Linked DNA regions of Homo sapiens: all the other regions are linked to region 1. The links are contacts of gene promoters, found by promoter capture Hi-C in human tissues and cell types (Jung and others, 2019). All regions are on one chromosome and are shown on one strand. The core of a region is centred on a gene start or on the middle of the fragment in contact, and the rest is flanking DNA. Distances in the headings are between cores, read along the strand shown.

Region 1 (3,976 bases), core at 1,271-3,770:
CAGTAAGACAAGATTCTGAGCAGCACCTCCTCCTTCCTTCACATGTGAGAAATATACTTCTTATAAGAATTACTTCTATGAAAAGTAAGTTTATCAAGTTGAATACCTAAAAAACACTAAATGGCAACATTTCCCCAGTAAATATCTGTTTCAAGTAACTGGAAGCCATTAACACTGGTAAAAACACAGAATCCAAAAGAATTTTGGACGTTTTAGCAACACAATACTATGGCAACACGGCAGAGAAAATAATTCTGACTTTTAAAATAAGATAACGCACTGTACTTTCAGTTTAACTGTTCCTTAATTGAGTACAACCTAACTTTGATTCAGCTACTTTATTAGGAAAAATGCACTTGAGTCCACAGTCCAGAATATTTCCAATGCCACGGATCTCATGCAATGTATGAAGAAATTTCTTTCACAGAGATGACAGCCCAGCAGGCAATAAAAGATACATGTAAATCATCAGGCACAGGAGTACAAACTCAACTGCAGAACTGTTCAGAGGGCATAGAAATAAAACTTAATTTTTTTTCTTTTATTTAGGAATGCATGCCCATTCACTTTTTCACAAGCCCATTTTATTAAAGAAATAAAAATAAGCCTGCAATTAAAATAAAATGAGGGAGCTCCATAAGTCTATTTCTGTTCAACAATTCAAATATTCTTAAATTCTTGGAGACAGTAAAGAGTCTCTCCTCCACCATCGGTCAACCACACACACACTCTACTCTGAAGAACTGGTTGAAACAGGCAAAAACTGGAGGTCACTGTTTTAAAATATAGGTATCTATATACAAATAGAATATGTCTGCCTCATCTTTCACTTCCAACAATAAAAAAGCCAGGGCGAGCACTAAGAGCAGCAGATCCGATTCATCTAGGGAACCACAGACTGTCAGTGCACAGTAATTCCTGCAAAAGGTAACAGATCTGACCAGATCATGTTGCTGCCATTTCCCAGAGAAAAGACAGACCAGTGGCACCCACACCCATCTTCATCTGAAACACATATTCCAGGAAAAGTAGGAGACTGCTCCCAGGAAGGAAGGCTTAATTTACCGTGCATGCCAGCAGATGATTCAGGAAGCCACAGGAGGAAAAAGCCAGGGGAACACTGTCCCGGGTAGGCGTGCCTCCAGAAATCTCTGTATCCCTGACCCGCAGTACTTCCTAGGATCTTTCACACCCTGAGCTGGCTGGAGTCGTGTGAAAATGGCAAGGACTCCCTTCACCACTATTCCGAACCTCAAGCCAGCCACCAATGAGGGTCACCCAACCCAACGCCCTCCGGAACGGTGCTCTTTTGCCGGCCTCTTCTCCCCTACTGACTTCTCCAAGGGCCAGCCTGCAAGGCTTGGCATGGGCTGCCCATCCCCTGGGAGGGCTGACTGCCCCGCCAGGGCTGTTGGAGCCTGGACACAGGAGAGACAAAGGGCTGGGAGGGGGAACTGGGCTCCTCCCCTGGGACCACGGAGCTCCTCTCCTCTCAGGTGCTGGGGTCTGACCCCAACCCTCTTCCAAGGTCCCCAAACTTCGCTAACAATGCAAGCACCTGTTCCCTTCACCTCTTCTGCATTTGAGTCCCTCAAGTCCTTCCATTTTCCTCCAGCTTTTTCTCCAGTACCTTAGACAAACCAAACGCCCTACTTCCCCGAGTCCAACACGCTCCCCTTCCATGACATAATTCAACCTCGTTCCCAACGAAGCCCCCAGATGGTCGCTGTCCCCCACCCAGAAGTTTCCCCTGGGTGTGCCCGAGTCCCCAAAGATTTCCTTCAAGTCTCACCCATGCGCCCCAGCCTTCTCCTTCCAAGTCCCCAAAATTCACATCAGGGTCTTCCCCTAGGTGTCCCACAGCCTCCCAGGTCCCCGTGCAAACGACCCCGGGGGCCACCCGGGCCTCCGTCTCCGCCGCGTCCGCTGACAGCAGAGGGCACGGAGGGGCCCCCTGGGCCCCCGCGTTTCCACCCGGCCCCCAACCGCCGCCGGCCGGCAGTTAACGGCCGGCGCCTCACCTTGGTTCACCAGGCGCAGGGCGTGCGTGAAGGAGGGGTCCAGGGAGTCCTTCTCCGCCATCAGCTCGGGCAGGTACTTCTCCTCCATGCTCGCCGGCCGCCGGGCCCGGGATGTGGACTCCAGGCGCACGGGGGGCGGCGCCCGGCAACCCCCGACCCCGCCCGCGCCCCCAGCGGCGGGGACCCGGGGGCCAGACGCGGCAGCAGCGGCCAAGCCGGGCGGTCGGCCGGAAGGCGGCGGCGGCGGCACGGGGGCGGGAACCGACCGCTCAGCCCCGATCCCCGGTGGCCGCCGAGTACCCAGCGCCGGCGGCCCCCGCGCTCCGGGCGCGGGCCGAGGAGGAGCGGGCGCGGGCGGCGCGGTTAGGCGGGCCCTCGGGCCGAGCGGGCTGCGGCGCCCCTGAGGCAGTCCACGGCGATCCCCGCCAGTCCCGCCAGCACCTGCCAGCACCCGAGCCACAGCTGCGACCTGCACGCCGCGCGCCGCCCCGCGCACTCTGAGCCACCGCGCCGAGCGCCCAGCGCCTGCCGCCGGCCCCGCCCCGCCCGGCTCCGCCCCGCCCCGCCCCGCGCCCGCCGCCCCGCCCTGCCGCGCCGCGCCTGCGCACTGGCGCCCACCGCCCCGCCGCCCGCCGCCTCCTGGGGCCGCTCTCCACTGCGAGTCCGCCGGGACTAACCGGGCGTTTGCGAGAGGGGGTGCGTCCAAGGGCCCCTCCCGCGTGTCCGGCGCCCACCTTTGGCCCTGAGGGCCGAGTGGGGAGCCCCACGACGCTATTACAGCCTTTCAGATGCACGGACTGGGAAACTGGGGCTCAGAGAAGTCAAGTGGCTCGCCCAAGGTCACCCAGCGAGTGATCCTGGGAAGAGGGGACAAGGGCCGAGCTGGAGCTGGGAAGGGCGCCCCAGTTCGCCCCAGTCGCGCTCTGAGGAATAGCAGCGGGACCGCCCTGCTCTCTAAAGCTTCCTGGACTTCTCTAAGTTATGTCGCGTTGCTGTCCCCTCGTACTTATAAGAGAGTAAGGCAGGGGCGCCGTCCTTTCTCCGCGCCTGAGCTCAGAGCGCCAACCTCCTGAGATCCGCCAGCTCAGAGGTCGGTTACATAAAAGCGCGTGCCCTTCTGGGCGTCTTTGTCATCCCGACTTGCTCCTGGGTTGTCATTCTCTTAGGTCATAAACCGGCTGTGCCTGGACACAGCTGAGTGAGCCGCGTCTGAGCTCATCCGCTCCTGGGGAGAGGCCCTGGGACGCCCCGCCTGTCGGTGGCAATGCTCTCTGTCCCCTTCCGCCCACCCCCAACCCCCAGCAAATGCTCTCCAAGGCCATTTCAGATTTCCCGAGGCATGTGGAATAAACGTCCCCCAGGAAGGCGAAGGACTCCAGTCCTTGCCCTGCCATTTTTCCTGCCTTCAAACAGCCAGCTCAAGTCCCGGCCTCAATGTCACCTTCCCTGGACAGCCTCTCAGGACCTCCCTGGCAAAGCAAGTCACAAGTCCCTTCTCTGTGTCCCCCCAGCTTGGTCAGAGGTCATTCACAGACAGCTGTAATTCTGTTTTCAGTAGACCATGAGCATCAGGGACAGAGTTTGAGTTTTGTTTTTGAGGGGGAAGGTCACCAGTGTGTAGTACAGGGGGCAGGGATGGAGGGTACTGGAAATGTCTCTTGGAGGAATAAGTCAGTGGCATACCACTCTCAGCCAATAGCCTGAGGACAATCGCCACAGTCCCCCAGGCAGCCCCCCCGCACTCCCAATGCAAATGGAGGCAGCTTTACAAACCCGAGGGGAGTGGGAGGTGGTAGAAATCTTGGAAGCTCTAAGTCCCAGACCCGAGTACTCAACTGCCCTCACTCTCAAGGCTCCACTCCTCCCCCGGCTAAGGTGTCATTTCAGAGTCCCCAGTAAGAGTCTTCTTCATGGCTCTCTTCAGTCTCAACTTGCAAGAAGCAGAAAAATGGCAC
Region 2 (4,029 bases), core at 247-2,746, 220 kb after region 1:
TTTTCCACAAAGAGCCAACAGAGACCTATCCCTTTATATTAACTACCAACTGAAGCATTCCCTGGTGGCGTTTCTCCATCCTGGTCCATGCCAATTACAGCATCGTAACCTAGAATGAAGTGAAAATTGTCCATGTGGGAGACAGGGCTCTGCAATGGGAAGGAGAAGAGATCGGAGTGAGATAATCCTGGATTCTAACCTTAGTCTTGCGGCTGAGTGGTGCTTGAGGGGACAGTTGGACAGAGGAAGGCATCCTAGGCAGAGGGAAGAACACAAATGGAGCCATGGAACACAAAACCATGTCAGGAGATGAGTGAACTTCAGGAAGGGGGATGTGTCTGGAAAGCAGGGCGTGAGAGGTGTCTGGAGGCAGGAGACGGGGGCTGCAACTGATATTAAGGAGACAAGATTTTATCTGGGAGGCTGTGTGGGGTATGAAGAGAGCACTGTTGTGCAGTCAGACAGATCTGTGTTGGAGGTCTAGCTCTGCCACTTTCCAGCTGTGAAACTGGGATAACAAAGCTTCCTTTGTAGAGTTACTTTGTGATTTAGAGCTATTGCTTGCAAAGACTGTGGCACCATGCCTGGCTCAGGCACATTTTTTCATAAACAGTTGCTTCTTTGAGGAACTGAGTGGCCACTGAACGTATCCATTGTGGTGTTGAAAGATCTTCCCACCAATGCATGGAGCATAGATTTACAGAAAACACCTTTAAAAAGGCAAACTGTTCAAGGTCATTGCACTTTACTGGGTGAGGAAGAGCCTGGGGCAGAGCAGTGAATGGGGGCACAGTTGGTACAGGGAGGAGGGGCAGATGCAAGAGGTATTTGTTAAGTCAAAGGTACAGGTCCTGGCATTGATTGTACATGGCAAGGAGAGCATTGGCGACCGGCGGGGAGTGGGGCACGGGTTAGGAGTAGTAAGAGTTCAGGATGATTGCCAGGTTTTGCGTGAATAATGGGTCCATAGTGCAGCCCCCAACAAAGATGTAGAATGTGACCAGGTGTGATGGCTTGTGCCTATAAACTCAGCACTTTGGAAGGCTGAGGCAGGAGGATTGCTTCATCCCAGGAGTTTAAGACCAGCCTGGGCAACATAGTGAAACCCCATCTCTACCAAAAACAAATTAGACAGACATGGTGGTGCATGCCTGTAGTCCCAGCTACTTGGGAGACTGAGGTGGGAGGATCACTTGAGCCCAGGAGGCAGAGGTTGCAGTGAGCCATTGCACTCCAGCCTGGGTGACAGGGTGATACCCAGTCACAAAAAAAAAAAAAAAAAAAAAAAAAAAAGAATATAGAATGTCAGAAAAGAAGAAACAGTTGTTGTAGGGAGAGGTTGATTCTCAGGTAGAAGCTAAGCCAAAGCCAGAACCAGAAGGAAAAAAATATAATTAAGTTCCTGGGTTATTTACCTACATTCAGTTGAAAATTCATGTTTTTTTTTTTTGTTTTTTGTTTTTTGTTTTTTAATATGCAGAGGCAAAACATCATAATGAAAGAACACTGAACTTGGATTCCCATGACCAGGCATGCAAACTTTGTCTACCTCCTAACTACTGTGTAATTTGGGGAAAATTGCTAAGCCCGTCTGAGCTTCAGTTTTCTAGTCTGTAAAGTAGGGACAATGACAATCAGTCCTGCCGCCCCCATCAGCTGAAGCACAGTGTGCAATGTGCAGGACTTCTCACCAATCACAGGCTTGTCCTCAGGGTCTCGGTCCCTAGTGCACAGACCATTCAAACATGGGGCCCATCCTGTGGTACCTCTCAATGCTGTGATTCTGAGGGTCATGGATGCTCCTCTGTTCTGAGAAAGCGGGTGCGGAGTTCCACATTCTCCTGGATGCCTTCCATGACAGGGCTCGCTGAGAGACTCGGGAGCGGGGACAGCACGCTCCTTTGTGGGAACACACAACACTCCCTGCCATCTGCCTGAGGCAGGGAGAAAAGAAGACAATGTTCTGTCCTCAGCAGGAACTGGCGCTATCAGAAAGAGATGGAACAAGAAGATCTGTTCCATTTCAAGCCCAAGAGAGTGACCACTGATAGCTGTCCTCAGGATTCATTGAGGACTGGATGAGAGGGAATGTGGAAGAAAATTTTAGTAGGAAGGAAATAAATATGGAGGCTTGGGGGGAGAGAAGGAAGGGAGGGAGGGAGGGAGGGAGACATGGCTGGAGGAGGAGAGGAAGGAAGGAGTGGGAGGAAGGGAGGCAGGAAAGGAAGGAGAAGACAGAAAGAAGTCTACCATTTCTCGAGCCGATCCGATGTATTAGGTAAGGTGCCAAGCTTTTTCATGCCGTCTGTCATTTAATTCCCACAACAACTCTTATTTTACAGGTAAGTAAAATTATGAAGCTGAGGCCAAGAATTGTCAAGTGCCTTACCCGAGGTTAAATCAATTTTCTGAGCCACAACCTGTCTTTTCCACTAAAACATGCCACTTCCCCTTTTGATCCTCTATGTACTCAGAGTGTAAGTGAAGTCCTGGAGGAACTACAAAGTTAGACACCATGAAGAGGGGCATAGCATCCCATTGGAAACATGGGATACCTCATGCTCTTCTGGGCCAGTCTCCCCTGTTGGTCTGCTGTACTCAGTTCTGGGCTATGCCAGAGAGGAGAGAGGAGCCCTGACAACCTGACAGCCAGAGCGGGGCAGGGAGGGTGGTGATGGGTTTCCAAATCAAGTCCTATGACTGAAGAGGCTGGGAGCACTTGGCTGTCGAAGTGACCACCAGTAAGGACAGGCAGCTGTCTTGAGCCAGGTGCTGTCCTGAAGTGGGGATGGAAGTGATCGCAGTTCCAGAGGCCTGAGCTCAGAGAGCTGCAATTTTGTTTCTCATGGAGCTGGGCAACCTTCTTCCAGACCAATAGTTTGGTTCATTTCCTCTTCTTCTTCTTCTTTTTTTTTTTTTTTTTTTTTTGAGATGGAGTTTTGATCTTGTCGCCCCGGCTGGAGTGTGATGGCATGATCTTGGCTCACTGCAGCCTCCACCTCCTGGGATCAAGCAATTATCCAGCCTCAGCCTCCCAAGTAGCTGGGATTACAGGCACCCAACACCACACCTGGCTAAGTTTTGTATTTTTAGTAGAGACAGTGTTTCACCATGTTGGCCAGCTGGTATTGAACTCCTGACCTCAGGTGATCCGCCAGCCTCGGCCTCCCAAAGTGCTGGGATTACAGGAGTGAGCCACCGCACCCAGCCAAAGACTGCTGCTGCTTTTTTTTGAAGTGTTATTTAAAAATTTGTACAGAGTTTGCTTAGAGAGACTGAGAGCTCTGAGGGGCATTCGATGACCAAGAGGCCCTGGTTTCATTATGCCGAGACCTAGTGAGTCTCTTCTGGACTCAAATGTGTGCAAAACTAAGTCAAGGCAGTCTGGAAACCAGCCATAGTTATTCACGCTTGTCCCTCACTGTGAGCACATTATTAAAGCTCTTTCTTCAGTCACATGGGGTAAAATCAAAACTCGAGGAGTTCTGATTAGTAAATTGACCTCCATCTCCTTGTGTTCTTAGTGATCAAAACCTAGATTGTCTCCAAAGCAAGTACTAGTGGCCCGGCCTTAATCCAGTTGCACCTGCTCATGCTCTAGAATTCAGCCCAGCTGGCATCTCTTCGAGGCACCATTCTTGGCTCTCTTGGTCAGGTGAGGTTCTCCTTGTTGCTTCCATAACACCATCCCTCAATGTGTTCCTTCCTTGTATTGCAATGATGTTTAGATGTGCCTGCCTCCCTCACAAGACTTGGAGATACATATTATTACCACCATTGCCCTCAGTTAAGAGGCAAGACTGTTGGGGCTCAGAGAAATTAAGTCACTTCTCTAAGGTCACAGAGCTAGTGTGTAATAGAGCTAAGATTTAAATCTATCTCACCTCGGTTTCACTCCAAAGCTTGTAATTTTTTTTCATTTCAGACTGTTTCTACAACAAATAGATTTCTAAAGTGCCTCTACAGAAAATGTGTTTTCTCTAAAATGAACACCAAACTGGACACTTATGAGTGCCCCCAAGGGTCTTG
Region 3 (4,157 bases), core at 1,606-4,105, 250 kb before region 1:
GTATGAAAAGAATCTCTCTTTTTTATGCATTTATACATGAGAGCATCGAAAATATCACATCTGAGAGAGACTGCATTTCCATTTGCAGAAGTAACTATAGAACTGAAAGTCAGTAACAGAAGGTCGCAATGTCACCAGATGACATGGCCTCTGATTGGACCCCTAGGCCCCTCTACACACACACACACACACACATACAAACACACACACACACATACACACACACACACACACACACACACACACACAGAGCACTGCCTCTTTCCCGAGTCACTCTGTGGCCCTCCGGTTTTCTCTTCCCTTCCCTATAGCTCTTCCTTCATAGGTTGGCAAGAGAGCTGCTTCCAAAACACAGGTCTCATCTATTCTCCTCCAGCCAAAAGATGGCTCTTAACTTCCTACTCTTCTGAGGACTCAGAGAGCCTCTTTTCCACAGAATTCTGAGCTCTCCTCTCCATCTTCCCTGCTCCAAAGCTAGTCCTAGGCTCCTGCTCCAGCGGTACTGACCCACTTGGTTCCTCCCTCCTTCCCTCTGTGCTTTACCCGTGATGTTCTTCCTTCACTCACACAACAGGCATTTATTGAATGCCTTCTGTGTTAAGTGTTGGAGCCCAGGCACGGGGAGTTGGGCAGCCATGCATGGGGTAGCTGGAAGAGGAATTCAGAGCCTAAGCTGGAGTAGGGGAGCGTCTGTGTGGGGTAGGTGGTGGCAATAGACATGGAAGATTTGACATATACAGGAGGATTCATTGAATGGGTGAATATATGAAGGGGGAGAGAAGCTAGATTTCTCAGTGGGAGAAGGACTTACAATACAGAAGGGTGAAAGCTAGAATACATTCTCTGATGGTGGATTGAAATCACTCACCTCAGTCAACTCATGGTTTCAGTCTATGCAGATAGATACAGAAATAGACATAGACACAAATGCCCAATGGCAGCGCCTGGAAGCAGCCACACTCCATTAGTGAGGAGCACACCTCACATCCTGATTTGGCCTCTAGCCACCATTCTCTTCTAAAAGGAATCAGGGCTTCTTGAGCCATGCCTATGTCCAAGGCTAAGAAAGGGAATGTACAAAATGACCCTGGCACATGTTGTGCCAGAGATCAAAGTAGCGTAAAAAGAATAAAAGGAACATGTCCATAGGACATGGGAGCCAACTTAACAGGGTTCCCACTGACCAAATCAGAGAAACCAGAGCAACAGAATGAGTGTAATAGATTATAATTCATAGAATAAAACAGGAAACTGCTAGTTTATACTGATAAATAATATTGAACATATCTTGAAGAATGGAATATGAACATATTTTGAATGTAACTTCCCCAAATAATACTTAGTACTTGTAAAGGAAAAGACATTTCACAGTGGAGTGGGACGGGGCATTCTATCTTATTCAAGGGATGGGACAACACAAGCACCATGTTGCTTTTGCAATATCCTTGCCAAAGGATATTGGCAACAATCTGGTGGCCTGGATCTGATCTTGAAGAAACATCAAGAAAATCTGAGTTTGGGGCAAGAAGTATTCTACATAAGGACTGGCCTGAAATTTTCAAGTGTTAAGGCCCTCCAAGTCAGGGAAAGAAGAATTCTAAAGGGGCGTGATAACTGAAGCAATAGGTTATACTTTTGGTATACAAAGGATGTTCCCGGGACGATTGAGGAAACTCGGGTGAGTCTGAGGATGGGATGTAGCCATGCATCAGTGCCAGCCTGCTGATTTTGATGGATGCAGTGTGGTTATGCAGGAGAATGTCCTTGTTTGTGGGAAACACACACTACAGGACACACAGGTGATGGCAGCAGGTCAGGGACAGACTCTCAAAGAGTTCCAGAAGAATGTCCCACACTTCCAGCCTTCTGTAAGTTAGCAGTTGCTGATATAAAAAGATACAAGAAGAGGTGCACTGTACAGAGGGATGACAGAAAGGCTCTCTGAGAGCCAGGAGAAGGTGGCATATGAAATGCAGCTTGAAGATTGATTCTGAGTTTCCAAGATGCTCGATAAGGTGTCTTGTTATTGTTAGGATTCCGAGAAAGTGCACCAGCAACTTCCCTTTGTGCCCAGTCCTTTCTCTTTCTCTGGATCTCAGGGACCCAAGACCTCTAGAAAGACAGCTCCCTTTTTCTATAGGTGTTTCTAGGAGAAACAGAGGTGGGGGGATGAGCACACCAACAGAAGATTTCCATCTTCTTATGTACCAGCTCTATCTCACACTGACTCCAAACTGAGGTTTCACATCTCCGAAAGCTTTAATCACTGAGATCCTCCCTCCTCCCCTCCTTCCCTCCCTCCCTTCCTTCCTTTCTCCTGTCCTTTCTTCCCTCCTTCTGTCCTTTCTTTTTTCTTCCCTTCCTCTCTCACTCATTTATTCATTCATTCATTCATCCATGCTTTAAAAAAGTAATGGCATCATTGTATTAGGTGCTGAGATACATGATTAGGTGCTTACATGAGTAAGCAAAAATAAGAAAGACAAATTTTGTCTTCAAGGCCCAGTAGGGAAGCTAGATGTCGACCATAGATGCACAACCATAAGTGCAAAATTATAACCATAAGTGCTTCGACAGGGAGGTATGTGGAAATAAGAAAGCACACTATGGAAACTGACTTGGGCAGGAAGGTTAAAAACAATCTCTGAGGAAAGGAAAACTTCAATGACTAAAATAACTCAAGGTTCCGAGTTAAGATTCGAAACCACTGATTATGAGTTCCTGAAGGGACAGGCTAAGCTGCTACAAGAGAGGCCCAAAAATATCGAAGTCCAACAATACCCAGTTCTCTCTCTTGCTGGTAACGGCCTGGAGGTGTGTGGGTCCAGGGCGGGTCTTTGCTCAGCCCCACAGGGAATCCCAGCGCCAAGGACCTTCCCTCTTTTTGCTTTGCTTCTTTCAGGCACTGACCTCACCTGCACTGTTGAAGCCACTTCCTCTGTTCCACATCTGAGTTCCAGCTGGAGGAAGGAGGAAATCAGGTCTTGGGAGACAAGCCATTTTCTTCTTAAAAGATGCAGAGGCCGAGCACAGTGGTTCACGGCTGTCAGGATCCCAGCACTTTGGGAGGCCGAGGCAGGAGAATTGCTTGAGCCCAGGAGTTTGAGACCAGCACAGACAACATAGTGAGACCCTCTCTCTACTAAAAATAAAAAAAATTAGCCGACACAGTGGCACGAGCCCATAGCCCCAGCAACTTGGGAGGCTGAGATGGGAGGGTCACTTGAGCCCAGGCGTTCCAGGCTGTGGTGATCTGTGATCACACTACTGCCCTCCAGCCGGGACAACGGAGTGAGAACCTGTCTCTAAAACAATGAATCCATAAATAAATATAAACGAATAAAAGGTGTGGCCTAGAGGTCGGCTGCGCATTTCCATTCACACCCATTGGCTGGAACATTGTCATATGGCCCACGGGAAATGAGACTCTCAGGGGGTGATCAGGGCATTCACTGTGTCCCACAGCTGATTCTGTGAGTTTAGTTTCTGATCTGCTTCCAGGGCGAGGCACTAAGAGGGTGTTTTGAATGAAACTCTTTGAGTTTCATTATCAACTCAGCCGGTAACTACTGTCGCCAGCAGCTGAGAGGCCCAGACAAAAGAGTGCCAGCAGGAACCTACCTGCGTGAGTCCCCATCAGGGGTCAGATGGCGGGCACAGCTTCAATGACACAACCACAATGTGAAATTTTAAGCATTTTTAGTACTCACAGACCCTGGGAAGTACACAGCATGCATAGAGGCCACACACACACATGCACGCACTCACACATACTCACGTACACAGGCACACAGGGAGGTCAGGGAGCACGGCACAGTGGGTGGTGGGAGTGACCCATGGGCCAACGTCCTCACTGGGCCCAGGGTGTTATCCCAACAGGTTTCCCGTGGGGAGCTTTAATGCTGGGTTTAAAGCAAGCAGGCACTATTTCTAGGAGGTCACGCTGTGTCTGAGAGGTGGCAAATGTCTGAATGGTTCCTTTAAGGAAGTGGCAGAAGAGCCAGGAGCCCAGTCTGCTAGGTAAGGCAGACCTCTCAGTTTTATTTCTGGCCATTGCCTGGGGCCACTTGGATTGGGGATATCATTAACAACTGTGCCAACGGGGACTGAGCCCTGCTTCTGGTATAAAAAATTAAGCTTCAATTTAAAAATGGACA

What was found. Contacts are between HindIII fragments. The study calls those that stand out against the background at their distance.
Region 2: a contact is called between a fragment that was not itself captured here and the fragment with the promoter of KHDRBS3 in region 1, in 2 of the 25 tissues and cell types used here (dorsolateral prefrontal cortex and hippocampus).
Region 3: a fragment that was not itself captured here is called in contact with the fragment with the promoter of KHDRBS3 in region 1 in 1 of the 25 tissues and cell types used here (H1 embryonic stem cells).

The regions. Positions count from the first base shown.
Region 1 is chr8:135,456,000-135,459,975 of GRCh38, reverse strand. KHDRBS3 (KH RNA binding domain containing, signal transduction associated 3) reads right to left here and starts at 2,520. Exons shown (of 9, transcript NM_006558.3): 1 at 2,022-2,520. The coding sequence starts at 2,109. LOC101927872 (a long non-coding RNA gene) reads left to right here and starts at 2,001. Exons shown (of 4, transcript XR_002956731.2): 1 at 2,001-2,094. RefSeq lists a silencer at 2,349-2,648. The HindIII fragment of the contact is 4,912 bases long and covers 1-3,976 here.
Region 2 is chr8:135,232,252-135,236,280 of GRCh38, reverse strand. LINC01591 (long intergenic non-protein coding RNA 1591) reads right to left here and starts at 2,150. Exons shown (of 5, transcript NR_120396.1): 1 at 1,767-2,150. The HindIII fragment of the contact is 3,202 bases long and covers 1-3,097 here.
Region 3 is chr8:135,709,894-135,714,050 of GRCh38, reverse strand. No RefSeq gene overlaps it. Among named protein-coding and RNA genes, the nearest start is that of KHDRBS3, 250 kb to the right of the region's middle. The HindIII fragment of the contact is 4,563 bases long and covers 574-4,157 here.